Linked DNA regions of Homo sapiens: regions 1, 3, 4, 5, 6 and 7 are each linked to region 2. The links are contacts of gene promoters, found by promoter capture Hi-C in blood cells and fetal thymus (Javierre and others, 2016). All regions are on one chromosome and are shown on one strand. The core of a region is centred on a gene start or on the middle of the fragment in contact, and the rest is flanking DNA. Distances in the headings are between cores, read along the strand shown.

Region 1 (3,755 bases), core at 1,075-3,574, 360 kb after region 2:
TGATTGTGATGGACATGCAGGTTCCATCAACCATTCTGCAGTTACAGAACTGTAATAAAAAGCCGATCTTTTTATTATACCTGTATCAACATTTAAAAACTAATCCCAGGCTGGGGTGCAGTGGCTCGATCTCGGCTGGCTGCAAGCTCCGCCTCCCGGGCTCACGCCATTTAAAAAAAAAACAAAAAACAAGAGCTATTCCACTTTCTTGTAGACAGAAACTGATCAGAATGTGTGTATTCTAGAATATTAAGTGAAATTAAGATTTTTTTTTAGATTTTGAAATTTTAGTCCTTCATATCTTTGCAGTTAATGCCCATATTTCTCCATTTTTATTTTAAAGTCCAATTTGAAGAAAATTCCTTTGATTAAAAAAATTTACTTGTACATATAAAACCTTTTTAAATATTATTATATGTAGACTTGATTATTATTTTAACAGAAGTACTAAATGTCACAACTATTATTTCCGTAATAATATGGAATCTCAATAACCTCAATATATTCTTAAACAAGAATACTGACCTCGGAACTTCCCATAGGTACAAAGAACTGCCCCAGTGAAGGAATTACTTCCCTATCCCAAAGAGCTGCAGGACCGCTCTGTCCCTCTCCGTCAACAATGTCCCTCGCAGCTGTTCTCTTTAGGCAACGATCGTGTCCTGGCCACAGAAGCTCTGAGCATCTCCTTGCCACGGCTGTGTCAGGACCCCTGTACACCATATGTGCCTCTACAATCCTGCCCTTCCTAGTGCTTCTGCCCACACACTCAACACACTTCTCCTCTGCCCTTATTCTATTTCATCATTAGTCTCTGTTCGTCTTTTTCATCCCGTATCAGTGCCTGATCCTAGTTTTTTATTCTCTTCTAAAACACCTCCTCCTGGCCTCACGGTGGGCTAGCTTTCAGGACCTGCGAATGAGCGTGGGCGACGCGGCTAGTGGATTGGCATACATCCTGTAGAAGCATGTGTGTGTGTGGTGTGTGTGGCCTCAGGTTAGAGTGCATCATTTTGGTGGTGCCAATGCAATATGCTTTCCTGCACCCTCCTCCATCCTTGACTTCCAAACAGTAGGCACACAGGTGGCCTTCTGCCACCTGAATTCCAGACATAACTTCCCATTTCCAAAGAGATTTCTTGGGAAAGACCCAGCAAGAAGATGGTGACCGATATAAGCTCCAGTGTGGGACATACAGCTTCCATCTATGTGTGATTTACTCTCTGCCTCATTGTAGCCCCTTGTAAATGTGTAGAAAAGACTAAGCAACCACCATTCCAGATTTTTACATTGCAAGTTGGGGAGTTTATCTGGCGGTTGCCCTGAAGCAACAGAAAGGGAGTCAGTGATTTCTGTGAAGTGAGGGAGGTTACTTTTTCAATTCCAGCAAACATTTTTGCAGAGTAAATATTGTAGGCTAATGAACCTCCTTAAATTCCAACATGTCATGGATTTGTATGGTTGCAAATTAGACTTAGCAGTATGTGGTGCTATAGAAAATCCAACAGCGTACTTAGAGTCTACTCTGTGAGTTAATTGCATGAAAAATCTCTGCAATTATTTTATCAGCCCAGATACATGGAAATGAGTATTTCAGTTCAAATGAATGTAGACAGTAGATAAGAGAGAGAAAAAAGAGGGGATTTCAGAAGATGATGGGGAGTCAAAATGACAACAGAAAATGAGGATGTAGTTAGAACCAGGCTGGGCATCTGATCACTAAAGGATTTTGCCAGTAGCACAACATTTTAAAAAAATTCAGTAGTTTGCACTGAGTCTGGATTATCAGTCACTTCCCAGTTCAGTTTATTGAGCACCCACTATGCATTTCTCTTTCTTTCTTTCTTCTTTCTTTCTTTTTCTTTCTCTTTTTTTTCCTTCCCTTCTTTCCTTCCTTCCTTCCTTTCTCTTTCTTTCTTTTTTTCTCTTTTTCGTTCTTTCCTTTCTTTTTTCCCCTTCCTTCCTTCTTTTTCTTTCTCTCTCTTTCTCTCTGTTTCTCTCTTCCTTCCTCTTTCTCTCTCCCTCTCTTTCTCTCTTTCTTTCTTCTTTTTTTGACAGTCTCATTCTGTTGCCCAGGCTGGAGTGCAGTGGCACTATCTCAGCTCACTGCAACCTCAGCCTCCTGGGTTCAAGCAATTCTCCTGCCTCAGCCTCCCTCTCTCTCTTTCTCTGTCTTTCTCTTGCTCTTTTTTCTCTTCTCTTCTCTTCCTTCCTTCCTTTTCTTTCTTTCTTTTTTTGACAGAGTCTCATTCTGTTGCCCAGGCTAGAGTACACTGGCACTATCTCTGCTCACTGCAACCTCAGCCTCCTGGGTTCAAGCAATTCTCCTGCCTCAGCCTCCCGAGTAGCTGGGATTACAGGCATGCACCACCACACCTGGCTAAGTTTTGTATTTTTAGTAGAGATGGGGGTTTCACCATGTTGGCCAGGCTGGTCTTGAACTCCTGACCTCAAGTGATCTGCCCGCCTTGGCCTCCCAAAGTGCTGCAATTACAAGCGTGAACCACAGCGCCCAGTTGGATTTCATGCAATGCATTATACATGAGACAAAGATGCCCTTGGACGTTGTTCCTGTCCTCAGGGAGTGCAGGTCCAGTAGAGAGGAGGGACAGATGACACAGTACAGTGTGACAGAGCAAGAGGCACAAGAGGGTCAACACATCAGAACATCTCGTGAGCCACGTGTTCTGCGTGGGAGTGAAGGGCAGACCTATGCAGAGGAGCTGGGGAGAAGCAGTGGGTGCAGCGCCACGGGATGACGGCTTAGTGGGCAGCCTAGTGGGGCTTTTACTGTCAGCAATTCAGTGCTGCTGGTGCCTGAAGGAGGCAGCAGTGGAAGCAGTGGACGTTACACGGGGCAAATATCAGCAAGAAGACTGTGGTTGGCAGCCCAGGGGCAGGTGAAGGGTGGGTAGGGCCCCAGCCTGGAGATTCTAGTTTGCATGCCTGGGTGAGCACCTGCAGTGTGAGAGGACAAGGCAGGGAAAAAGGAGGAGAAATAGCGCTGGGGGCGGGGGAGGGGAGTGTGATCATCATTCTGTTGTATTTATTAAGATGTGTGATAAAATAACTCTTGGGAGCTGGCAGGTAGCATCTTCCTGACGTAAAGGTTACCTGAAAACATGCCTGAAAATCAGACATGATAAAATCAAACCACAGGCTTCTATATTAATAGAGAAATATCATGCCAAAAAATTAAATTCTTAAAAAATCCTTAATAATATTACTTTCCTTTTAGATATAATGCTTGATGATATACTTCCAAGCCTGTCATTCTTTTTCGTTGTCTCCATCACAACTGAAAGCAGTCCATCAGGTTAAATCTAGTGAATAAAGAATCATCATTTTTAGCAAGGTTAGCAGTCTTCATCTTTATCTGTGTTGTATCAAGCATATGAAATGAAGTTACATGTCTCTTATCAATAGCATCTGCTTTCATCTGTATTTATTTTTTAATTCATTCATTATTCATACATTCATTCATGGTAAGGAGAACATCTCAGTTTTTTTCCCTCTGACCACTGCCTTTGAGGTATTATTTTATAAAAAAGAAATTATATATTAGAGACACAGGCAACATACCCTATATACCTGATTCCATGTCCCCCCTCTCCTCCCCAGGAATAACCACCATCCTTTAATTTTATATTTTTATTTCCTTTGTATTTTTTTATTTTTATTTTTTTAGACAGAGTCTCCGTCGCCAGGTCACCAGGCTGGAGTTCAGTGGCACGATCTCGGCTCACTGCAACCTC
Region 2 (3,519 bases), core at 986-3,485:
TCCCTAGAAAAGAAACTCTAAAACTGGGCTCCAGTGGAGCCAGCGCTAATGAATGACTAGGGTTACAATGCCCTCTAGAGACTTACTCGGGAGTGTTGACCCAAATGATGTCCAGGTGGCAGAAGTAGACACACTCTTTATCCATCAGGGACGAGCAGGAGCAGCGCTTGGACCGGCGGAGCCGCCAGGGTGGACTGGGAGTGGGTTTCTCCCCGCCGTTCTCACCCACCGCGCTGAGCTCAGCGCCTAAGACTGCTGGGGAGAGAAAGAGCAGGTCAGTGGGGGATGTCTCCTCAAACGCCGAGAGACATGCTGGATCACAGTAGAGTCAGAGCTAGCAGAGCAGATAAAAGCAGATGAAGCACACAGCCTGCCATCAGCAAGAAACACAGAAAAAAGGGCTCTTTATTTTTTTCCCTCCTTAACATGAGTTCACCTTTTGCCTCCCCCTCATGCCCTTGGCTTATCCACCTTCAGGGAGATTACACAAATGCAGAGGAGATAAACACCTGAAAAGGGACTTCCCCCACCCCTCTTGAAGCAGGCTCAGGGAAATGCTGTGGAATGCTGCCTGTTGAAAATCCGGCTGGCTTCTACAAGGAACTTGGTAGGACAGCACTATCCACTGAAGCTTACTTAACATTGGCACATGACTAAAGACAAGAAATCACAGTTATTCCTAGCTTTGGGGCCACTTCCCCATTCAGGATGACCCTCTCTTTAGGGGGTACCCATCCACTTCACATGCTGTGTAGGGCACAGGGTACCCCAGATGATGTATATCTTTCAAAATTAGGTGGGGAAAATGATTGGAGAGAGAAATTAACTATTCAATATTCAATTCAGGAGGGTAACTCCATAGAAACCAGTGACCTAAGGTGGGGCTGAGAAGCAGGTCAGGGGACTGAAGGTAGGCTGGGGGGATTTTGAATTCCGAATCCCTGGGCATCAGGCTTGTGTGGGATCCACTGCCTCCCCCTTCTCCACTACTGCCTTGCCTCTTCCTCCTAACAATTTAGCCATGCAGCTTATCTGCCCAATTTTGTACATTTCAAATGATCAGACACATTCCAGGATTTTCATTCCCTTGACATCCTTTCTCTTTAGTCAGGGTCACGAAAAGACAAAAAAAGTGCACTGACCCTAAAAACGGGGGGGACCCGGGCAGATGCACACGCACTGCCTAAATCCTTCGGCAGCCAAGAATTATCCTAGCTCCCCTCCCAGCACAGGTGAATAAAGCTGAAAAGAGAGCTCACACTGTTTTGGGTGCCAAAAACCTGCCAAAAGAAACCTAAAGTCAATGATGACAAATTTTAAAGAAAACATCTGCTTCACCCAGAAACCGCCTGCGGGGGGTGGTGGCGGGGGGGGGGGGAGGCGGTAGTTAGTCAACAGACTTTTGCTCTGCAGGTGATTTTACTGAACATACATTGCTTGAACGACTGGATACAATTCCTTGGCTTCAAGCTGGAATGCTTAAATATTTTACACGTTAACACACTATTAAAATAGTGTTTAAATAAGATTTAAGTTCCTATATGGCCTGTGTACCTGTATAAACACATATATTACAAACATACATTTGACTAAATTGTATATGTCCATACTCTTCTCATTTTTTAAAAGCCAAGGAAACACATAATGGAATAATAATAATAAAACGATAAGTTATTTTAATGTCATGTTATAGTCAATTGCACCTAATTGTATTCAATAGAGGAATTTTACATTTTACACTAGAAGACTTAAAGTAGCTTTCAGCAATAATTCTCAGACACTTGCTCTCTAAGCTGCAGTCATAAAAAGAACGGGGAAAAATAGAAGCAAGAAAAGCATGAAGGTGGATAAGAACACACTAACTTGTAATTCCGAGACTTACAAGTCAACGAGCGTGCCTACCTGTTTCTGGAGCTCCTTGGCAAGCCACAAACAGCAGAGAGAAAATCATGAGCAAATAATCCATTCTGAAAAAAAGGGATCAAAAACCTCCCGTTCAAACTGAACCCAAAGGAAAACGAAGAAAAACAGCTTCAGGTCCCTCAAAGCGCTGCGGGTTCCTCAGATCTCAAAGCGATCCTTCAGCCCAAGTGCCCTTTTAACGGGGAGAAAAGGCAGCGCCTGCCAGGAGAGAAGGCAGCGAGCGGAGCGTCTGCAGGCGCACGCGGCGGTGGAGAGCTGGGACTGCAGGAGGCGCAGGACCCGTTCGCCTGGCGCAGATGCAGAGGCGCGTCTGACTTGGACAGCTCTCTGCCGGCTTTTTATATTGAACCCCTATTAGAGTGGGGGTAAACAGCTCCGACTTTATTCCAGCCCCAGACAATGTTATTGTGTTATTAGTCACCAACAGGCAACGTGCAGCCGGAGATAAGGCCAGGCCCGAAAGGAAATCACTGCTAACTTCAGAGGCAGACGCCCGCCGTCTGACAATTCGGGGGCAGGGCTAAGAAAAAGAAAATACCCATTAGAGACCTTTGCTAAACCTGCCCGTGCAGTGCTGGAGTCCGCTTCCCCTTTGCAAGCTGCCAGCCCCGGAGTTCAAGAATCAGAAGAGGGGACTCCAGAAAAAAAGTCATACCATTGGTATGAAAAGTATGAGCCACAGTTTAAATAGATTGTATTGTTGTGTGCGGGGAATTTTTTTTAATTGTTGCTCGCTTCATTTTCCTTTTATGTCTCTCCGATTCTAGTCTCAGTCAAACAAGGGAATGCTCTCCCTCGTCACTGCCCCACTACTGGGGGTCAGACTATTTTGGCAGATCAACGTACTTTTCTCTTCAAGCCCCTTCCTGCGGGTCTTTTTTGCTGAAGTTCTTTGCATCTATCGGAGAAAGATCCGTGAGGGATTGGCAAGAAAGGGAGCTTAAAAATAACATCAGAGCTCGTTTAGGCACATGCCCAGTCTTTTCCCTATCACTGATGAGAAGCCCCGATAAGTTCTTTTGTGTGTCCACACTTCCCCTGCGGAGGAGGCTGATAAACTGATTGAAAAGCAAAGGTGTTTTTCACACAGAACTTAAATCTTAAGATTGGTCGGTGCCACCAATCTTAAGACATGGCGGGAGAAGAACACCAGGGGGAGATGAAGAGCTACAGGGGCTGATGTTTTACTAGGACAAAAAGGAAAACCCTTCTAAATGGCAGAAAAAAACGCAACCTGGCTTGGGGGCCGAGGAGGGTCAAGGAATGTTGCCTAACATAGGAAGGAGGAATGCACCTCAGAATATTCTATTTATTCCCCGCACAAGCAGGGACATATTTTCTGGGACTCTTTTTTTTGGGGGGGTGTCTTCATTTAGGGCAAAAAGGTGTTCTTGTACAAGGTTAAGTGAATATGCAAGGAAGGTGGTGCTGAGAAGGAAATGCCATTCGAACAAGGAATCAGATAATACTTCACATTTAATAATGTGTTTACATTTTCAAAACAATTTCCTGTCTATCTAACCTTGAAATCCCCCCCTGAAGTACACACAGGGCAGTTACTGTACAGGTGACATCATGCCTTAATAAAGAAAGCAA
Region 3 (3,680 bases), core at 97-2,596, 280 kb before region 2:
TTCTCTTCCACTAGGGAATTTCTTTCATTTCTCTCATGTGTTAGATTGCCTGTTACCTGGATCCCACATCTTCCTCTTTCCTGGTGTACTTACTCCTTTGAAAGCTCCTTTAATTAATTTCTGGGAATCCTTCCAGAATGTTCAGCCTAGAGCAGGACTTGGCAAACTGCAGCTTGCAGCACTGATTCATGGCATGTTTTATATAACCCTTGAATTAAAAATGGTTTTTATATTTTTAAGGGGTTGTTAAAAATCAAAAACAAAAATAAAAACAAACAAAAGCAGAATAATATGTGACAGAGGTTGTATGTGACCCATAAAGCCTGAAAAATTTATGATTTTTTTCCTTTACAGAAAATGTTTGCCAACTGCTGGCCTTGAGTCTGCTCTTCAACCCTAGCAGAGATTTTATAAAGATGAATACCCTACACCAAATCCTTTTCTTTGTAAATTAGACTGATTTACATTAGCTACACTGATGTGCCTAGGGTTTTTTCTTTCTTTTTATGATTTTAAATTAATGATTTACTGTCATAAAAGGCTAGTTTTCTATTAAAAGTTTTCTGGAGTCAATTTTGATAACATAGTTTTTTAAAAATGTGTCTTTTTGTCTTGATCCATTCTGCCATGATGCTGTCAATTTTATTAGCATTTATACAGAATAATAATGGCTCTGATAATTTCTCTAATTCATTTTTGCCTTCTATTTTAGTAATTTCAAATTCAGCTTTATCATTTCATTCTTCTCCTTTCTTCCTTGCTGTTCTTTTTTAACTTCCTAATTTGGTTGCTATTTAAATTTTAGCTTTAAAAACTTTCTAATGTAAAGATTTCAGCTCTGTCTCCTAAGCATTGATTTTTTTCAGTGTCTCATGTAATGACATGTTTTTGATGTTGAATCATTCTTTTGAGTACTCACATTCTATTTCTTTGTAGCCATTACCATTTTCTTAAATGCTATTATTAATCTTTTTATTTGTTTAGTTAATGTCTTTCCCCATTAAAATGTAAGCTTCTTAAGAGCAATTTTCTCACCTGCCTTGCTCACTGATACATGCAGAGGCCGCAGAACCCAGTAGACCCTCTAAGATATACAGGAATGATGAGCAATTGCTCTCTTTTCCTTCAAGAGCCAGTCACAATTACTTTCAGATGCTTTTTTTTTTTTTTTTTTTTTTCAGACAGAGTTTCGCTTTTGTCACCCAGGCTGGAGTGCAATGGCGGGATCTCTGCTTACTGCAACCTCCGTCTCCTGAGTTCAAGCAATTCTTCTGCCTCAGCCTCCTGAGTAGCTGGGATTACAGGCACACCATACCCAGCTAATGTTTGTAGTTTTAGTAGAGACAGGGTTTCACCACGTTGGCCACGCTGGTCTTGAACTCCTGACCTCAGGTGATCTGCCTGCCTCGGCCTCCCAAAGTGCTGGGATTACAGGCATACACCACCGCGCCTGGACTCTTTCAGATGTTTTATTCACGTTGAGACATTAATCTATAAATGAGGATAAATTATTACATCAAATTTCCTTTCACTGGGGAGAAGATTAAATACAGTAAAGTGTAGTTACTACAATATGTATTATAATATATAATAGAGGACATATTATTAACTATAGGGCAGCAAACAAGTTCTGATTTTTAAATTCTGCCATAACAATAGAATGTGTAGAAAGAAGCTTAGCGAGGCAATGTATATAGTGGACTAGAAATGTAGTTTGGATTTACTTATTCTGACTTTAGGTGAGTTACTTCATTGCTATGCTTCAGTTGGCAATGGTAACAATAATTATAACCTGCACGTTAGGAATTTTATTAAATTAAATAAGAAATCATTTTAATAGACACCTGATTCAAAATGTCAGTTCCAATTACCTTCCATTCCTTAACATGGTTCAGTCTTTGGGAACTGATGAATTCTGAGACTCAGAAGAATTCACTGCTTTAGCTATATTAATAGTTATAAATGGAGTCACAGTAGATACCTGGCTAATAATATCTTCATGTGTTATTGATTTCCGGAGGTATTTACAATCTATAAGAAAGTGCAATGTGAAGATGAATAATTAGATAATTTATTATAAGATTTAGGCTTTGATCATTGAAGAGAAGAAGGACCTAGAGGGGTCAAGACTTATTTCCCAAGGCCTTGGATTGAATTCAGTTTTCTTTGTACCAAAGTGGAAGTGCAAAATTGGGTACCAAACCCACATACGTGCCGGAATGCAATTATAAATTCTTCAGGAAGATGTTTTCTCCCGTTTATCCAATGCCAAATTCAAGACAGGCAAATTTCCTCAATGTCTTCTTCTATAGGGGAGTGTATTTCTAGTTCGTCTTGATATGTCAGTTTCCAGTTTTTAGCACATTATTTGCTATTTCATTCATGTTTAAAAAGCATCCTTTCTTTAAATGTTGATATGTGCACACCAGTGTCAGAGATCACTATTTTATATTTAACAGCAGGTCCCTTGACAATTTAGAGCACAAAAACCTTAGAAAGCTGATCTGAGCCACGTGTAAATGAGGAAAGTATTAGGTCTGCAGGACGACATTCAGTCACATCCTTCCCCATGGCAATGACCTTCCTTTCTTCATCGGCTGCCTGACCAAGGAGATGTAAAATAACAGGATTGCATGGATGGTTTTTGAGAGCATTGTCATCAAGTTTGACTATCATTATTGAAACAGCTTCCAACTACTAACATCTTTGAGGTGAGACGTGTGAGGGAGAGTGGGTCAGGCTTTCCTTTTTTCCTGCTGGTATTTGTTTTTGCCTCAGATGGTATTCCCTGCTTGGTAATATATGCCTTGACTTTGTGACCTGTCTTCCTGCAATAATTCTTTGGTGGAAAAATCCAGCAATACAGCCAAGAGTTAGTTCTTCCTCTGGCTTCATGTGCCTGGCCCAGAGATAACATCTTGCAGGGTTAGCAAACACATGTAGCTCAGGTTACGGTGTTAGCCACTCAGGACTCCTTCTCGAGCACTAGGCCAATGGGGCATCATTCTGTTTCCAAGTTCAAGACTTCAGTTAATTTATGAATAGTGGAGAGGGACTGTAACTTGGCATGGATAACAATCAATGAGCTGGTGTACCTATGTTCTATAATTTTGGAATGTAAGACAGGGTGGTGCTGCTGGAAGTGAACAGTAGCAGAACTGAGAAAGAAGGGGAAGGATTTAAACTCTCAAAATGTAGACAAATCCATTCACTGAAATTCTCACAGAGACTCTGACAGAGATAATCACACTTAGCCATGACAGAAAATAACATTTGTATCATTTACACCACTGAGAATTTTAGGCAGTAAATAGAATAATTCAAGGCACTAAGTTGTGTTAAGACCTGGGGCATGTTTCAATTCCACCCTGTATTATCTGTAAGGCTGCAGCATATGTCTTGGTTTCTGCATATATAATATTGCCAACTTCGTGGTATTTAAGAATCAAGTTTGACCCTTTGTGCAATGTGGATGCAAAGGTAAAATGGTGCAAATGCTATGGAAAATATGATGGCATGTCCTCAAAAAATTAAAGAAAGAATTACTGTATGATCCAGCAATTCCACTTCTGAGTGTACTGTAACCAAAATAATTGAAAGCAGAGTAACAAAGACACATTTACACATCTACATTCACAGCAGCATTATTAACAATAGCCAGGAAGAGGCAGAAGCAAGCC
Region 4 (3,943 bases), core at 1,186-3,685, 490 kb after region 2:
ACACATATAGGACATTTTATTTCATTTTGCTCTCAAACATTACCCAACTCACCGTGGCGATTTATTAACAAACTCCTAAGGTAGACAGTGATTCCTGGACCCTTAGGCCCTGACAATGACAAAAGGGGCTCACAACCTGCAGAAAGAAACTGCCGAACAGGCAGGTGCCAGCAAGTTGTGTTTTCCAAATCATTGGCAGGTGCTTCTCATCTCTTAACCCCTGCCAGTGGCTTGCCTGTGAACCACTCCTTCTCTAATGTAGCCTAAACTTTCCCAAGTTTCCAACCACTGAAGTCACTGGTAGATTCACCACCCAATATGGGGCTCCTGCTACTGCAGGCCACTGGTAAGATACAGATAGCATTGCAGACTCAGAGGCTGAGGGATCTCCCTCTGAAGACCTAGATAATGCAAATCCAATGAGACGCAGATGAGAGCAAGCCGGGCTTTGTCCTGCCCTGTGCTGCCTTGGTGCACACACCCACGCCTGGCTACGCCCGACTCACCTATCCAGATGAGCAGCGGCAGCCCCAGGCAGAGGTCATTTGCAATCTTCCACAGCTGTGGAACATTGAATGCCATGAAGTTTAGAAAACGCCCCTTTCTCTCTCTCACCTATTTTCCTTTAGAAGCCTAGGGGTCCAATTGTAATTGAGTTTTTTCTTTACAATCAGGGAGTTTTTTCTTTACAATCTTTACCCTGATACAGAATAAAACGAAGGGTTTTAGCACAGCCCAGCCTGCATGGTTTCCCAGCATCTCAGGTATTTACACATGTGGTGGTGCCTAGTCTTTTGGTGGCGTGATCCAGCAGGGAGTCATGGAGGAGGGGAGAGGACACCTCCCCCGCCCCCATATCCCCACACTATTGGCTGCTCCCCCTGCCACTCAGCAAAGCCTGACAACCCTCTGCTACCCTCGCCACAGCTCCTCTTCACTTGCCAGGGATGAAATCAGCCCACAGGCACCTAGTGTGAACCCAAACGTATCTGAGACAGATCTCAATCCGTTCAGAAAGTTTATTTTGCCAAGTTTAAGGATGCACCCTTGACACAGCCTCAGGAGGTCCTGACATGTTCCCAAGGTAGTCAGGGCACCCACGCCTGGTTTTATACATTTTGGGGAGACATGAAACATCAATCAATATGTGTAAGGTGTACATCGGTTTGGTCCGGAAGGGCGGGACAAGTTGAAGCAGGGGAGGGGGCTTCCAGGGCATAGGTAGCTAAAAGACAAATGGTTGCATTCTTTTGAGTCTCTGATTAGCCTTTCACTGAATACACAATTTACCTGTGAGAGGAGAAGAGAGGAATAATCACTATGCCTTAGTTTGGAAACAACAGGGCAAAGGAAGCCATCAGATATGCATTTGTCTCACTTGGGCAGAGGGATGACTTTGAGGTCCGTCTGTCCTTTGTCCACAAGGAATTTTCTTGTTAGCGAATCATGAAGCAGTTATCTCATTGTAGCTATCTTATTTAGGACGAAGTGGGAGGAAGGTCCCAGCTTGACTTCCCTTTGGCTTACTCATTGTGGGCTCCTGAGATTTATTTTCCTTTCACACTGACAAACACTGAAAACCATCCCAAGACACAAGAAAGGGGAAAATGAGTTTTCCTGGGGGTACATGGAAGCCCCAGAAGGAAGGAGACAGCAGGGCGAAGTGGCAGAGCGGTCCATGACAGTAGGTCAAGGCACTGAAAGTAAACCATCTATATCATGATTTTTTGGAATGTCCTAGCTGTTAGGTCTTCCTATTGAACCAAACTGACAAATCTCAGGGATCCTGGGCTAGAAATCCCATGGATTTGATTTAGAATGATCTCCAGAAAACTGTTCCCTGAGGACTAACAAGATTTCAACCGGCAGCAAATAATAGATTTACACTTGAGGGTATGCCCTTCACGGAATCAGGAAGCTAGAACTGCCCCCCGCTCACATCGTGTGAGTCTCCCTAAAGCTTTGCTGCAGCTCTGAACTTTCGTAACACAGGCCGCAGGCATCATTTCACAATGATCACAGAGCACAATTGTATACCATGTGTTAGACATATAAAATATGGTTAGTGCAAACATGCTCACTAAATTAACTATGGCTTGCCAAATTAATTCCTGTAAGCAAAGAGAAAGAAATTCAATTTTCTAACCAATTATGCTTATTGATTTCTCAAGGTTAGGCCTCAAAGAAAAATGCAGAAAGGGTAAAAATTGCCATAGGACTTTATGAAGAAACTGTATTTGAAATATGATTTTATTTCTACTTCAGCAATAACTGTCATTCACTTTATCTATCAGTAGATCTGGGGTCTCACTTTTAGGAGAAGGTGTATTGTGTGTTCACACTGGGATACAGACAGATCTGGGTATGTTTAGGATCTGAGGAATAGGCTTACAGATTTGGGGTCTTAAGAGCTTTTTAGTAAATAAATTATCCAACTCCTCCCCACAACCCAAATTAAGTAACTCATCTGTAGCAAGTAGCAAAATGTACACCTGGAAGTCTGTCTTGTGATCCCTACATTCTTTCGGTGCCACAGTAATATGTTTACCTTGTGATCATAATTCACACTTGACCTAAATCTCATTGTGAACCAGGAACCAAGATGTCCATTTTAAAACATTCTTTTTTGAGGGGGCACAAATGGCACATTTGTTAACAAGACACGAATTTAGAAATAATTCTTTGGAGGTGTAAGATTGAAAAGGTGTAATTTATAAAGTGTCATTTAATTTATTAAAATATGTGCATTCAAAACAAACTTCCACTTTGAGAGAGACAAAAGGAAAACCAATTCTGTTTAGCACCTTTGGTAGAAACCCGGCCTCATGTTTGCACACACCCACTCCCGCACCCACACACCCTCCTTCCATTGCCCTATCCCTACCAATTCTGTGACAAAGGTCAAGCTTTTGAGCATGGTCACCATGTAATAAAGTCTGGACTATTTCACCCAATGCCAAGGTTGCTTTGGCAACCACCATTCTCATGCCTCCAATATTTCCTGGGGTATAAGCACAGCCTGACCCCAGACGGCCTGTGTGGGTGGTGCTGTGGGGGAGGGGTCTTATTACAAATGGTGATTATTGTCCCCTCCGCAGACCTATTAAATCAGAATCTCTTGGGGAGGGATCAGAAATCTCATTTTGTGTTTTTTCTTGTTGTTGTTATTGTTGAGACAGAGTCTTGCTCTTTCACCCAGGCTGGAGTGCTGTGGTGTTATCTCAGCTCACTGCAGTTTCAAGCTCCTGGGCTCAAGTGATCTTACCTCAGCCTTCTGAGTAGCTGGGACTCCAGGTATGTACCACCATGCTCGGCTAATTTTAAAAATTAATTTTTTTTTTTTTTTTTTGCAAAGATGGGATCTCACTATATTGCTCAGGCTGGTCTTAAACTCCCATCCTCAAGTGATCCTCCTGCCTCGGTCTCCAAAGTGCTGGGATTATAGGTGTGAGCCACCGCACCTGGCTAAGAATCCTGTTTTTTTTTTTAACAAGTTCTCTAAGTAATTCTTCTGCACAATAATGTTTGGTAACCACTTCCAGAAGATTGCAAATAAATTGATTTGTAAAGGAACTGGACCCAAGGCCTTGACTTCAGGCTCATATTTATCTCAGCAACTGGGCTGTAGTCTCTACCACCATCCTCCAACAGCCCAATGACAAGAAAAAGAAATGCTCAAAAATGTGATTAAATGGGAAGCAACAGAATAGGTGAAAGAAAAATCCGAGTAACAAATGCTAGACTGCTGAAAGTGGAATGGTTTTTAACTCTCCTCAGTGACTCAAAGACATCCAAGCCATCATTACTTGCAGAGCCGTTCTGGTTTGGGTAACCAGTAGTATTGACATACATATATACTTTAATGTGGATGCTGACCTAAGTCAAATGAACCATGAGAACAGCAAAATGAAGCAAAATAAAAAGTAACAGTGGGATTCTTCTT
Region 5 (3,786 bases), core at 1,262-3,761, 460 kb after region 2:
ATTGCCCAGTGCTTTCTGCTAAGGCTAGCGTTTCTTGGCTAACACTGTACTTGGTGTAACTTGGCTTGGATGCATGGTTGATCCCTAATGTGATAACATGGTTAAATGGTGGCTCACGTTTTCTTTTCACCTTAACAAGACTGAGGACTCTTGGGAGTTTACTATTCTGTAAGTTTGCTAAAGTTCGTTGATTTTTCTTCTCTCTTCCTGACCACATTAATTTGGAATAGAAGATATTTGCTTATTCACAACACTCAAGTCAGACTAAATATTCACTTTTGAGTGTGTATGTGAGTTTACTATCAGTCAAAATTCTTAAAAAATGAAAAAAAGTCAAAATGTGCCCTTACCGTAAGTATGTAGACAAATAATTTATTAGAGAAATACCATGGAAAATCTATCTAGTAGTTAAACCAGAGAATAAAAATCAGAAAATTATTTACTTCATTTGCACATACTAAAGTAGCTGGTTATCTTTGACAAATCAGTTAACCTCTCTGCAACTTGGATTTGTTACAGAGGTGATCAACAGTTTAATCACTCTGAGTTAGTAGACTGAGAATACCTTCTGCCCACCTGAGGGCTTTCCTTTGAAGAGATGCCATTGTTTTATATCCCAACTTATCGGGTTTCTATGTTTGATTGGTGGGAAGACAGTGCGTTGCACAATGCCTGGTCCATAACAGATGCTCAAGGAATATTTGTTGACTCAATTAACGAATGATTGAGGTGCTCAATATGCCTGAGAAATTTTCCTTTATTCTAGACAGGGTTTCGGAGTTTGTTCTATTCAAGCAAACAAGCTTGCTCTGAATTCTGTGGGTAGGAAAAAATGTCAGCCCGACAGCTTTTTCTCCCCCCCTCCTCCGTGAATGAGAAAAACAAAACAAAACAAAACATTTGAAGTAGTATAAAGAGGCAAATATAGACACCAAACACTATTAAATACAATTCAATTGTTCTTAATTGAGCTCAATCAAATTGTTTCTCACTTTGAAAGCTGGAGTATACGTCTTCCTTGCTTGGCAGGCACTTTTAACACTTCAGAAGAAATTACTGGATTGACAGAAAGAAGCTCAGAGAAACGCATATGGAAATTAAATAATTGAACACCATCATATCCAATTGATTTAAAGAAACTAAGTTCCTATTCTTTCTCCTGCTAGGCTAATTTACTATTCCAATTGACTGCAATGTGGCATTCAGCAAATATCAAATAGCTGCATGTGTCAGGGGCTTCCTTGTCCTCCACATTGACCTTGGATTAACCCTTCACCTCTTACTCCACAGCTAATTAAATCCTGTGGCAGTTCGGTGAGACATTCTTCGCTGAAATATTTAGTGAGGGTCTTAAATTCCTTCATACTTGTCGCAACCACTATGTCTACCTCCCACAGTACATCTGCTTTAGTGTCACAATATTTTGTCAAAAAACTGCAGGACTGCCATGGTAACATCATAAACCCGTCTCTCGCCCAATTCTTCAAGCAGTTTATAAGAATCCAGCTGTAAAAATTGGCCATAGGCTGCATGAACTGGTTGTTTTATGTGTGGTAGTTAACCTCTTTTCCCTTTTTTCTTCACCACTCCCACTCCAAAACCACTCATTTAAAAATATTTACAAAGTCATTTAACATTTATTTAGCCGTCAAATAGGAAATTGGAGTTGAGCTCAAGTTGACTTTTCTTACTATTATACTGCTTTCTGAGGTCAAAATTGTCACCTTTTTTTTTTCTCTTTGCCATCTGGGTGAGTTCAGCTGAAATCAGAAGTTCATTTTTATCCCTCTTTCATTTCCTCTTTTGTGGAAGTCTTCACTTCTCTAAGTGCCTTTTAAATTCAGTGGTAGCCCCATATACAGAAAACATACATAGGTATTTGTGGGAAAAGGGACAGAGATGGGAGGGACAAATCATTCTAGCACAGGAATCACCTTCATTTTCCTGGATCACATTTAACTGCACTTGAAATAGGTGAAACTGTTCCTTTTACCTTTTTCTTCAAAGAAAAGTCACATAAGGTATCTGTATCCCCATCATTCTTACTGGTTAGAGGTTTTCCCTTTGCACTGATTTGGGCACATATCTGGAAATCCCATTTGTCCCTATCCTAAGGCTTTAGATAAGGTGGGGCGAGGTTCCCTCACACATACTGGGTGAAGCTAACACAAGGGAACTCTGTCACCTAAGGAGAGGGAGATTTCTAAGTTTTGTGGAGTTTTTTTTTTTGGTTTTTGTTTTACCTTCTTTTACTTTTTATTTTTTTATAGAGATGGGGTCTTGCTGTGTTGCCCGGACTGGTCTTGAATTCCTAGACTCAAGTGATCTTCCTGCCTTGGCCTCCCAAAAAGCTGGGATGACAGGCATGAGCCACGGATCCTGGCCCGTTTTGTTCTTAAGTAAAATTAAACTTGTTAGACAAAAAGAAAGAAACAAAAAATCCAAGAAATCAACCAATATCTCCTGGAACTATTTTGAGTTAGAGCCATGGAAAGAATATAAATACATCAGCGCGGACGAGGCTTCAAGATGCCCGACAAGAGGCGCCCAGCACTGGCCTCCTCCACAAAGAACCAAAACCGCGAGTAGAAAAACGCACGTTGAATAGAGCCTGTCGGAGACCACACTAGAATTCAGCAGGAAAGTGACAAGGGACCCTGGGGGCAGGGAAGGAGAGGGCAGCAAAGCAGCCAGGCAGCCAGGATTGGCTGGGGGAGAAGGTAAGTGAGAGGCCCCAGTGGTCCACACAAGCACAGCGGACTCCTACATTCCTAGGCGCAGAAGAGCCCCTTGGCCTTTGGGGGCTCTGAGACTAGTACAGACAGCCATCTGCAGTAGGCATTGTTCCAAAGATGGGTTCACACTGGGTCCTACACACCCCTGGGACCCAAGCAGTGGCAGTGCAGTGGCATTTGGGGAGCCCATCCCCCGCCAGATTACACCCTGCCTTGGGGCCTAACCACCCCCGCACCCCACATGCCTGGAGTACCACTGACATACCCCATATCCACCCGGGGGTGCTACAGAACTACCACAGGATCCTGCAATCCCACCACTGGGTATTTATCGAAAGGAAAGGAAATCAGTACATCAAAGGGATACCTACACCTTGTTTCTTTCTTTCTTTTGTTAGACGGGTCTCACTGTGTCGCCCAGGCTGGCGTTCAGTGGTGCGATCACAGCTCACTGCAGCCTTGAACTCCTGGGCTCAAGTGATCCTCCCTTGTCAGCCTCCTGAGTAGCTGGGGCCACAGAGGCATGTCACTACAACTGGCTATTTTTTTTGTTTTTTGTAGAGATGGAATCTGTCTACGTTGCCCTGGCTGATCTCAAGCATTATCATTATCTATGTTGCTCTGGTCCTGGCCTCAAGCAATCCTCCTGCCTCAGCCCCCAAAGTGCTGGGATTACAGGTATGAGCCTGGCAGAATTTGGATATTTACTAAAGCGCTATTCACAATAGCCAAGATACAGAATCAACCTAAGTGTCCACAGACAGATGAGTGGATAAAGAAAATGTGGTAAATATACACAATGGAGTACCATTCAGCCACAAAAAAAGAATGAAATCCTGTCATTTGCAGCAACATGGGTAGAACCAGAGGTCATTATGTTAAGTGAAATAAACCCGGCACAGAAAGACAAATATCCAATATTCTCACTCACATGTGGGAGCTCTAGAAGTTGATCTCATGGAGGTAGAAATTAGAATGATAGTTACCAGAGGCTGGCAAGGGTGTGTTTTAGGGGGATGAAGAGAGTTTGGTTAATAGATTAAAAATGTAT
Region 6 (3,414 bases), core at 128-2,627, 310 kb after region 2:
GGTAAACACATTGAGCAGCAACAGAATTTCCATTTCTGTCTATTTATATGAACAAGGTTTCTCAGGGCGTACATCTAGAAACATAAAATATATGAACAGAATTGATGTGAGCCCCGTCTCACTCAAATCATGAACAATATTTATCTAGGGGCAAATGAAAATAACCTGACCCCATTAATCTCATTAAGAGCTTTCTTTTTGATAATTTAAAAATTGTTGTTTGATGATTATCTGTGAAAATCTATAATGTAGTTACGTTGTTTTGACTAATTATGTACTACTAACAGTCGCAATGATAGCTCTCTCTGAAAGGCAATTAACACTTAGAGCCTTGTGTTCACAGGTAATTAAAAAATTAATCTTTCAATTTATATGCATATTTTTATCATAGAAAATATTGATGATTAACAGAGTTTCAAAAATAAATATATACTAAATACATTCTTGGGAATGGGGGCTTGAAGTGGAATAGGAATAAAAGTCCGGGAAGAAAAAGGGATAAAGTACAATTTCCCATTGTTAGATAAAATCTGATACATATATTTTTAAGAATGGACAGTGTGGGTGTCAAATTGCTATGGTATTGGAATGTCACTGAGTATGATGGGATTTAAGTTTTATTTTTTTAATGTCTGTGGTTACCATATTCCACAAATTACATCTTTGCAAACTTGTAATTTTTTGATAACAGTTATGAGATGGCCATCTAAAAAAATCAATGAAGAATACATAGAATTTCATTTCCTCTTGCAGGATGTCTGGGATTTAAATTTGAAGAAAAATTTTAAGCTATTTTAATTTGTTTACTGATTTAAGCTATTGGTGAGTTATGTATATGTCCTTTATAGACAGACAAGTGTCCCAAATTAACTGATCATTTCTGTGAAGGTAAATGGCTGTCAGTTGTATCAACCCAGCCAACACTGAAAAAATATTAGCACAAACTGCCACTCAAAGGTAAAAGTGATATGCTTTTACAAGGGAATAGAAAATAATTGGCTTTTTAAACAAACTTCTGCAATGGAGACAGCATTTTGAGAATAATTGGAAATGTTCCCATCATTATGTGATTTTTGTTGCTGAAAACGATGTTTGTCACTTACAAAATTTCTTAAATCTGCCTACTCTAAAAACAGGACCACAAAATATATAACCTGCTTTGTAACCTGTGTACAGTCCCAGTGGTATTTAAACTCATTTGTTAAAAATTTAAAAATTCAACAGCTTCTGACTGACATCAGGAAAAGCAAATATTTTTTAATATTTCAACCATTATCTACATGATTAGTAAATGGGACTGAAAAGAATGCACATGATGACTTAGTAAGACTGACAATGATGCACTTACTTTTTCCAATTTGGACCTATGTGTATTTGTGAGGTATCTTTAGAGCTAGGGTAACTTTTTAAAACGAATACCAAAATAAATTGAATTTAGAAAAATATCTTTGATCACTATGTCACAAATTATTAAACCAAGATTTAAAAAAAATAAAACCTATTTAATGACATAATTCTTACTAAAATATTAATATTAAGACTATTTTAGAGAAGCAACAAGTTTTTTATTTCATGATTGAACTAAATATAAATTATTTTTAAATAGTTTATTTCATCTTTATCTTATCTTTAAAATTCTTCTATTTACAAGAGTGTTTTATACTTTATGTAATCCACTAGTCTAGTAGTAAATACATGCAATTATTAAATAAGTAAATTGGGGTGCCTACTCAAGCATTTTTAACTGATAGGAGGCAAGAACAAAACATTGGGAGCTACTTCTCCATAAAACTTTATGCAACTGAGTGAGAATATCTTGATGAAATAGATTGTCTGCCTGGAATATATAAATAACCAAAATTGGCTCAAAATGTAGAAGATCCACCATGAATAAAATTGAAAAAGATGATAATTATCCCTTCAAATTTGCCAAAACCAGATGATTTTATGGATGTTATTTTAGACTCTGAAATTATAGATTTCTTTTGCAATTTAAAATGTCCCAGAGAATAAAGATGGAAATCTTCCCAGTTTATTTTAACCTCATACCAAAACCTGATAAAATTATCACAATGAAAGAAAACTATAGCTAAATTTCACTTATGATTATAGAGAATTAAAAAATCCTAAATAAAATCACCAACCCAGACGTATTAAAAGAGCAATAAATTATCCCCGTACTAGAGTTTATTCTTGGAATCAAGAAGTATAAAGAAATCTATTAATGTAATAGATACAAATGATTTTTAAAAAGACAGTATCAATAGATATCTTCCAAAAGCACCTAATTTAGTTTAACAACCATGTTTGACAGAGTATTTAAGGAAACTAGAAAGAATATTCCTTCAACATTTCATATATACATCGATAAATACATACATATCAAAATGGACCTCTCTGTTTCTCTCTCAGAGGTATTCCATTGGAAATCATAAATACTTGGTGTAAACAGTTACACTATTTTGTGAATCTTGGCCAATATCATGGGAAAAGCTAAATAAGTTTCAAAATACACAAATAAAGAAGTATCAATGTTTGCAGCTGATTTCTTTAAATAGGCAAGTTCAGTAAAATGGCCATTTACAAATCATACAGACGTTAATTTTAAAACAGTTTTCTAACAACTAATATCAACTGCCTAGACATATACTTAATTAGGAATGCCTAAAATCCATTAGACAGTATTAACATTTTCCGAGGGACATAGACAACTACAAAAAAACGACGCTGCAGATAAGACTTAGTATTGTTAAGATGTCAGTTCTGCTAAATTAATTATAAGTTGTCAGAATTTTAATGAGTTTTTTTTTAAAAAACATGTAACAGTGATTTCAAATTTCAACTAGAAAAATAAACATACTGCAATAATTAAATTTTTGAAAACTAAGAATGAGAAGACATTTGCACTAATGGTTTTCAAAATATATTATCAAAATATAACCAATTAAAACAATGGTACTGGAATAGATAGAACAATGAAACAAAACAAAAATCCTAGGAGGATTTCAAGCATACTTAAGAATTTATGCTAAAGTGACTTTTATTAACAATGAGAAAATATATTACTTAACAATGGTGCTGGAACAGTTGGCCTGCTTTGAAAAAGTAGGACAAATTTTCCACCCTATACCATAATCTAAAATAAATTCCAGATAGATTAAATATTTCTTTCTCTTTCTTTCTTCTTCTTTTTTTTTTTTTTCGCCCAGGTTGGAGCGCAGTGGCGCAATCACAGCTTGCCACAGCCTCAACCTCCTGGGCTCAGATGATCCTCTTTCCTCAGCCTCCCAAGTAGCTGGAACTGCAGGCAGATGCCGCCATGCTTGGCTAATTTTTTAAATTTTTCGTAGAGACAGATTCTCCCTGCTTTGCCCAGGCTGGTCTTGAACTCCCAGCCTCAAGCAATCCTCCTAC
Region 7 (3,437 bases), core at 187-2,686, 330 kb before region 2:
AGAGAAACTCACTTTTCAAGCTTGAGTACAAAAGAATAAAGCAACTCCTGTGCCTGAGGGAGTCTTGGAAGCCAGGTGAAATAAAGCAGAAAGCAGTGGTTAGTCTTGCAAATCAGTGGAAAAATCATCAGACCACAATATCCATGATAGCCCAGAACCTTGCACTGGGCTTAATCAGGCTCACAAACGACACTCAGTACTCTCTATATGCTGCCTTTGCAAATCGCTTTCTTTTTCTGCTTTCTTGAGCTGGAGATTAAAAGAATCAATAAGACAACTATTTGGTGGCACTTTGGATTTTAATGAACTACACAGTCACAAGGCAATTATATTGCTAAATCATTAATTGCCTTTGAGAGTTCAACAAATGTTTATCACATCTACTATATTTTGATCATTGTTAGTGGAGGAGGTTCTTGAATTACAGTAATGAAAAAGAAGTGACTGAGTTTATATATGAAATACATGAAAGTTAACTGAACCATTTAATGATTTCAATTTTCTTGTAGCCAACTAATATTAACTGCAGTGTGATAAAAGGTTTTTCAATTGACTATTGTTACAACTTAAAATCTATGCACAATACCTGGCGCAGTGTCTGGGACATAGAATGTGTTCAACAAATGTTATCTCCTTCATTTTTGATATTGTTTGGCTCAGTGTCCCCAGCCAAATCTCATCTCTTATAATCCCCATGTGTCAAAGGAGGGACCTGCAGTCCCTACGTGTCGAGGGAAGCAGGTGATTGGGTCATGGGGTGTTTTCCCCCATGCTTTTCTCCTGATAGTGAGTGAGTTCTCATGAGATCTGATGGTTTCATAAGTGTTCGGAAGTTCCTCCTTTTCTCTTCTCTCTCTTGCTGCCTTGTGAAGAAGTTGATTGCTTCCCCCTTTGACTTCTTTTTTTTTATTATTATACTTTAAGTTTTAGGGTACATGTGCACAACGTGCAGGTTAGTTACATATGTATACATGTGCCATGTTGGTGTGCTGCACCCAGTAACTCGTCATTTAACATTAGGTATATCTCCTAATGCTATCCCTCCCCACTCCCCCCGACAACAGGCCCCAGTGTGTGATGTTCCCCTTCCTGTGTCCATCATTCTCAGCAAACTATCACAAGGACAAAAACCAAACACCGCATGTTCTCACTTATAGGTGGGAATTGAACAATGAGAACACATGGAACCCCTTTGACTTCTGCCATGATTGTAAGTTTCCTGAGGCTTCCAAAGCCATCTGGAACTGTGAGTCAATTAAACTTCTTTCCTTTATAAATTACCCAGTGTCAGATATTTCTTTATAGCAGTTTGAAAACGGACTAATACAATTGTCTTCTAAAAAACTGGAAATTTTTGCAATTAACTCCCTGAGTGAATTTTACATTTTGGTATGTCATTCTATCTCTAGTGGCCAGTGCAATTTTCATCATCAAGTAGGTGGTCCATAATGTTTGCAGATGGAGTGAGCCTATCACAGTGTTAAACTGACATTCAGATTATTTCCTAGCAGAGTCTACAACAATGATCTAGTAAATAAGGTAAAGAGCAGGAAATAAAGAAAAATAGATTCAGTTTATTCCACTTCTGAGCCACCTTGCTATTTTTTTGGCCATTTATCTAGACTACTGGTAGTTATTTCATCTCATCATAGTAATTGATGATGTAACTCTAAATTTTCTTTACAATGAACACCAACAAAGGCATATTTTAACAGTTTTATTGAGATATAGGTAGTATGCCATTAAGTTCACACACGGTGTACAATTCAATGGCTTTTAGTATATTTATAGCATGTGAATCTATTGCCACGATCAGTTATAAAACATTTTCCTCAGCCCAAAAGGAAATCACACACCCTTTAGTTTTCACTTCCCCAGCACCTCCTCCCTCCACCCTGCCCATTTCCCCCAGCCAAAGGCATCTATGAATCTACTTTCTGCCTCTTAGAGTTACCTATTCTGGACATCTCATATAAATGAAATCATACAATCTATGGACTTGTGTGCCTGGCTTCTTTCACTTAGCACAATGTTTTCAACATTCATCCATGTGGTAGCATGTATCAGTACTTCGTTCCTTTTTCCTGCTGAATAATATTCCATTGTATATGCATAGCACATGCTGTTTATCCATCCATCAGTGGATGAACATTTGGGCTGTTTCCACTTTTTGGCTTTTATGAATAGTGCTGCTATAAACATTTGTGTAGAAGTTTGTTGTGGATTCATCTTTACTTTCTCACCTAGAACTAGAGGAGCCTATTTTTAAATATAAAAAATATATACTCCTCATATACATTTACTTATCAGAAGAAATGGTGGGAGAATCTTCAACGTAGTGGAAAGAGCATTGAATAGGAGTCTGTAGGAAGACCAGGGCACAGGGTATCCTCTCAGTTCTGGTACTAACCGAACATGTGACCTTGAGCAAGGGGCTTTACCTCTGCCTTCTTGTACATAAGGGAGTTGGGGCCCTCACTTGAAGGTCAGCCTGCAACCTGTGCATTCTGAGAATTTGGTGTAATATAGTGACTCAGAGTTAGTTCTAGTTAAAATTTAAGCCTAAATCCAAAAGCAATATGTCAATTAGGTCAAGGAAATGGACATACATCCAGTTTAAAAAAAAAAACCTGAAGATCCAATAACAAATAAAAATAACCCTCAGTTGACTTTAGGAATAATTAAAGGTTGCACCAGAAAGAAGGAAAAAGTGTATTCTCCATCCTTACATCAATGTCTATTCATAAAAAGAGAACATAGGCTTATTAGGTAGACTCTTTTATACTTTCTAAGAAATGCAAAGAGAAATTGGAGTTGCAAACCTACCTTTTTATAATCTAAGGAAAAGCTTTTACTAATTACCAAGAAGAAAAGGAATACTTTATGAAAACAGTTAAAGATGTAGTACTATTTCTAAAAGGGTACTCTATTCAAGAAAGTTCTTATGCTTTCATGAGAAAATGTTAAAAATTTTTAAATGTCCTTTGCAATTTATCTTTTGTATTTGTGAACACACACACACAGAACTTAAGTAGTCTGTTGTACCTACTGAAGAAAAAACTAGAAATAACAGTGAATATCTGGCATTTTTTTTTACATGTTAGGAGGTAAAAATCAATGCAAATGACATAAAAAATCATAAAATGAATAGAGTAATAAAAGGCTTTAAAAAATTCTGAAATCCAATTAATGTGATCAACATTAAAGGTTTTCCTTTAGCAATCAAAATCCAGTCCATTTAGATTTATTTGAGAAATGTCAACTCTCTCCCTAGTTAATGTTATTTAGGGAAAGAAAAACCATCCTGCCCTAGATTCCTGGTTTGGTATTAATTTATATTTCCTCATGATTTTATTAGCCAGTGGCCAAAGGAAAGTCGCATATATATATATATATTTGAGACAGAGTCTCACTATGCCACCCTGGCTGGAGTGCAG

The links. Contacts are between HindIII fragments. The CHiCAGO score rates a contact against its expected background, and 5 or more counts as called.
Region 1: a fragment that was not itself captured here is called in contact with the fragment with the promoter of EDN1 in region 2 in 1 of 17 cell types (neutrophils); the score reaches 5.2 in neutrophils.
Region 3: a contact is called between a fragment that was not itself captured here and the fragment with the promoter of EDN1 in region 2, in 1 of 17 cell types (endothelial precursors). The highest score is 5.9, in endothelial precursors.
Region 4: a fragment that was not itself captured here is called in contact with the fragment with the promoter of EDN1 in region 2 in 1 of 17 cell types (M2 macrophages); the score reaches 5.2 in M2 macrophages.
Region 5: a contact is called between a fragment that was not itself captured here and the fragment with the promoter of EDN1 in region 2, in 1 of 17 cell types (total CD8 T cells). The highest score is 5.1, in total CD8 T cells.
Region 6: a contact is called between a fragment that was not itself captured here and the fragment with the promoter of EDN1 in region 2, in 1 of 17 cell types (neutrophils). The highest score is 5.1, in neutrophils.
Region 7: a contact is called between a fragment that was not itself captured here and the fragment with the promoter of EDN1 in region 2, in 4 of 17 cell types (M1 macrophages, M0 macrophages, M2 macrophages and 1 more). The highest score is 8.3, in M1 macrophages.

What each region holds. Positions count from the first base shown.
Region 1 is chr6:11,924,992-11,928,746 of GRCh38, reverse strand. No RefSeq gene overlaps it. Among named protein-coding and RNA genes, the nearest start is that of HIVEP1, 85 kb to the left of the region's middle. The HindIII fragment of the contact is 9,888 bases long and covers 1-3,755 here.
Region 2 is chr6:12,289,077-12,292,595 of GRCh38, reverse strand. It overlaps EDN1 (endothelin 1), which reads right to left and starts at 2,235. Exons shown (of 5, transcript NM_001955.5): 1 at 1,903-2,235; 2 at 87-255. The coding sequence starts at 1,966. RefSeq lists enhancers at 2,303-2,372, 2,383-2,482. The HindIII fragment of the contact is 4,555 bases long and covers 634-3,519 here.
Region 3 is chr6:12,567,075-12,570,754 of GRCh38, reverse strand. No RefSeq gene overlaps it. Among named protein-coding and RNA genes, the nearest start is that of LINC02530, 16 kb to the left of the region's middle. The HindIII fragment of the contact is 663 bases long and covers 1,015-1,677 here.
Region 4 is chr6:11,802,366-11,806,308 of GRCh38, reverse strand. No RefSeq gene overlaps it. Among named protein-coding and RNA genes, the nearest start is that of ADTRP, 26 kb to the right of the region's middle. The HindIII fragment of the contact is 946 bases long and covers 1,963-2,908 here.
Region 5 is chr6:11,826,347-11,830,132 of GRCh38, reverse strand. No RefSeq gene overlaps it. Among named protein-coding and RNA genes, the nearest start is that of ADTRP, 49 kb to the right of the region's middle. The HindIII fragment of the contact is 3,411 bases long and covers 806-3,786 here.
Region 6 is chr6:11,979,902-11,983,315 of GRCh38, reverse strand. No RefSeq gene overlaps it. Among named protein-coding and RNA genes, the nearest start is that of HIVEP1, 31 kb to the left of the region's middle. The HindIII fragment of the contact is 4,383 bases long and covers 1-3,414 here.
Region 7 is chr6:12,619,296-12,622,732 of GRCh38, reverse strand. No RefSeq gene overlaps it. Among named protein-coding and RNA genes, the nearest start is that of LINC02530, 36 kb to the right of the region's middle. The HindIII fragment of the contact is 2,828 bases long and covers 23-2,850 here.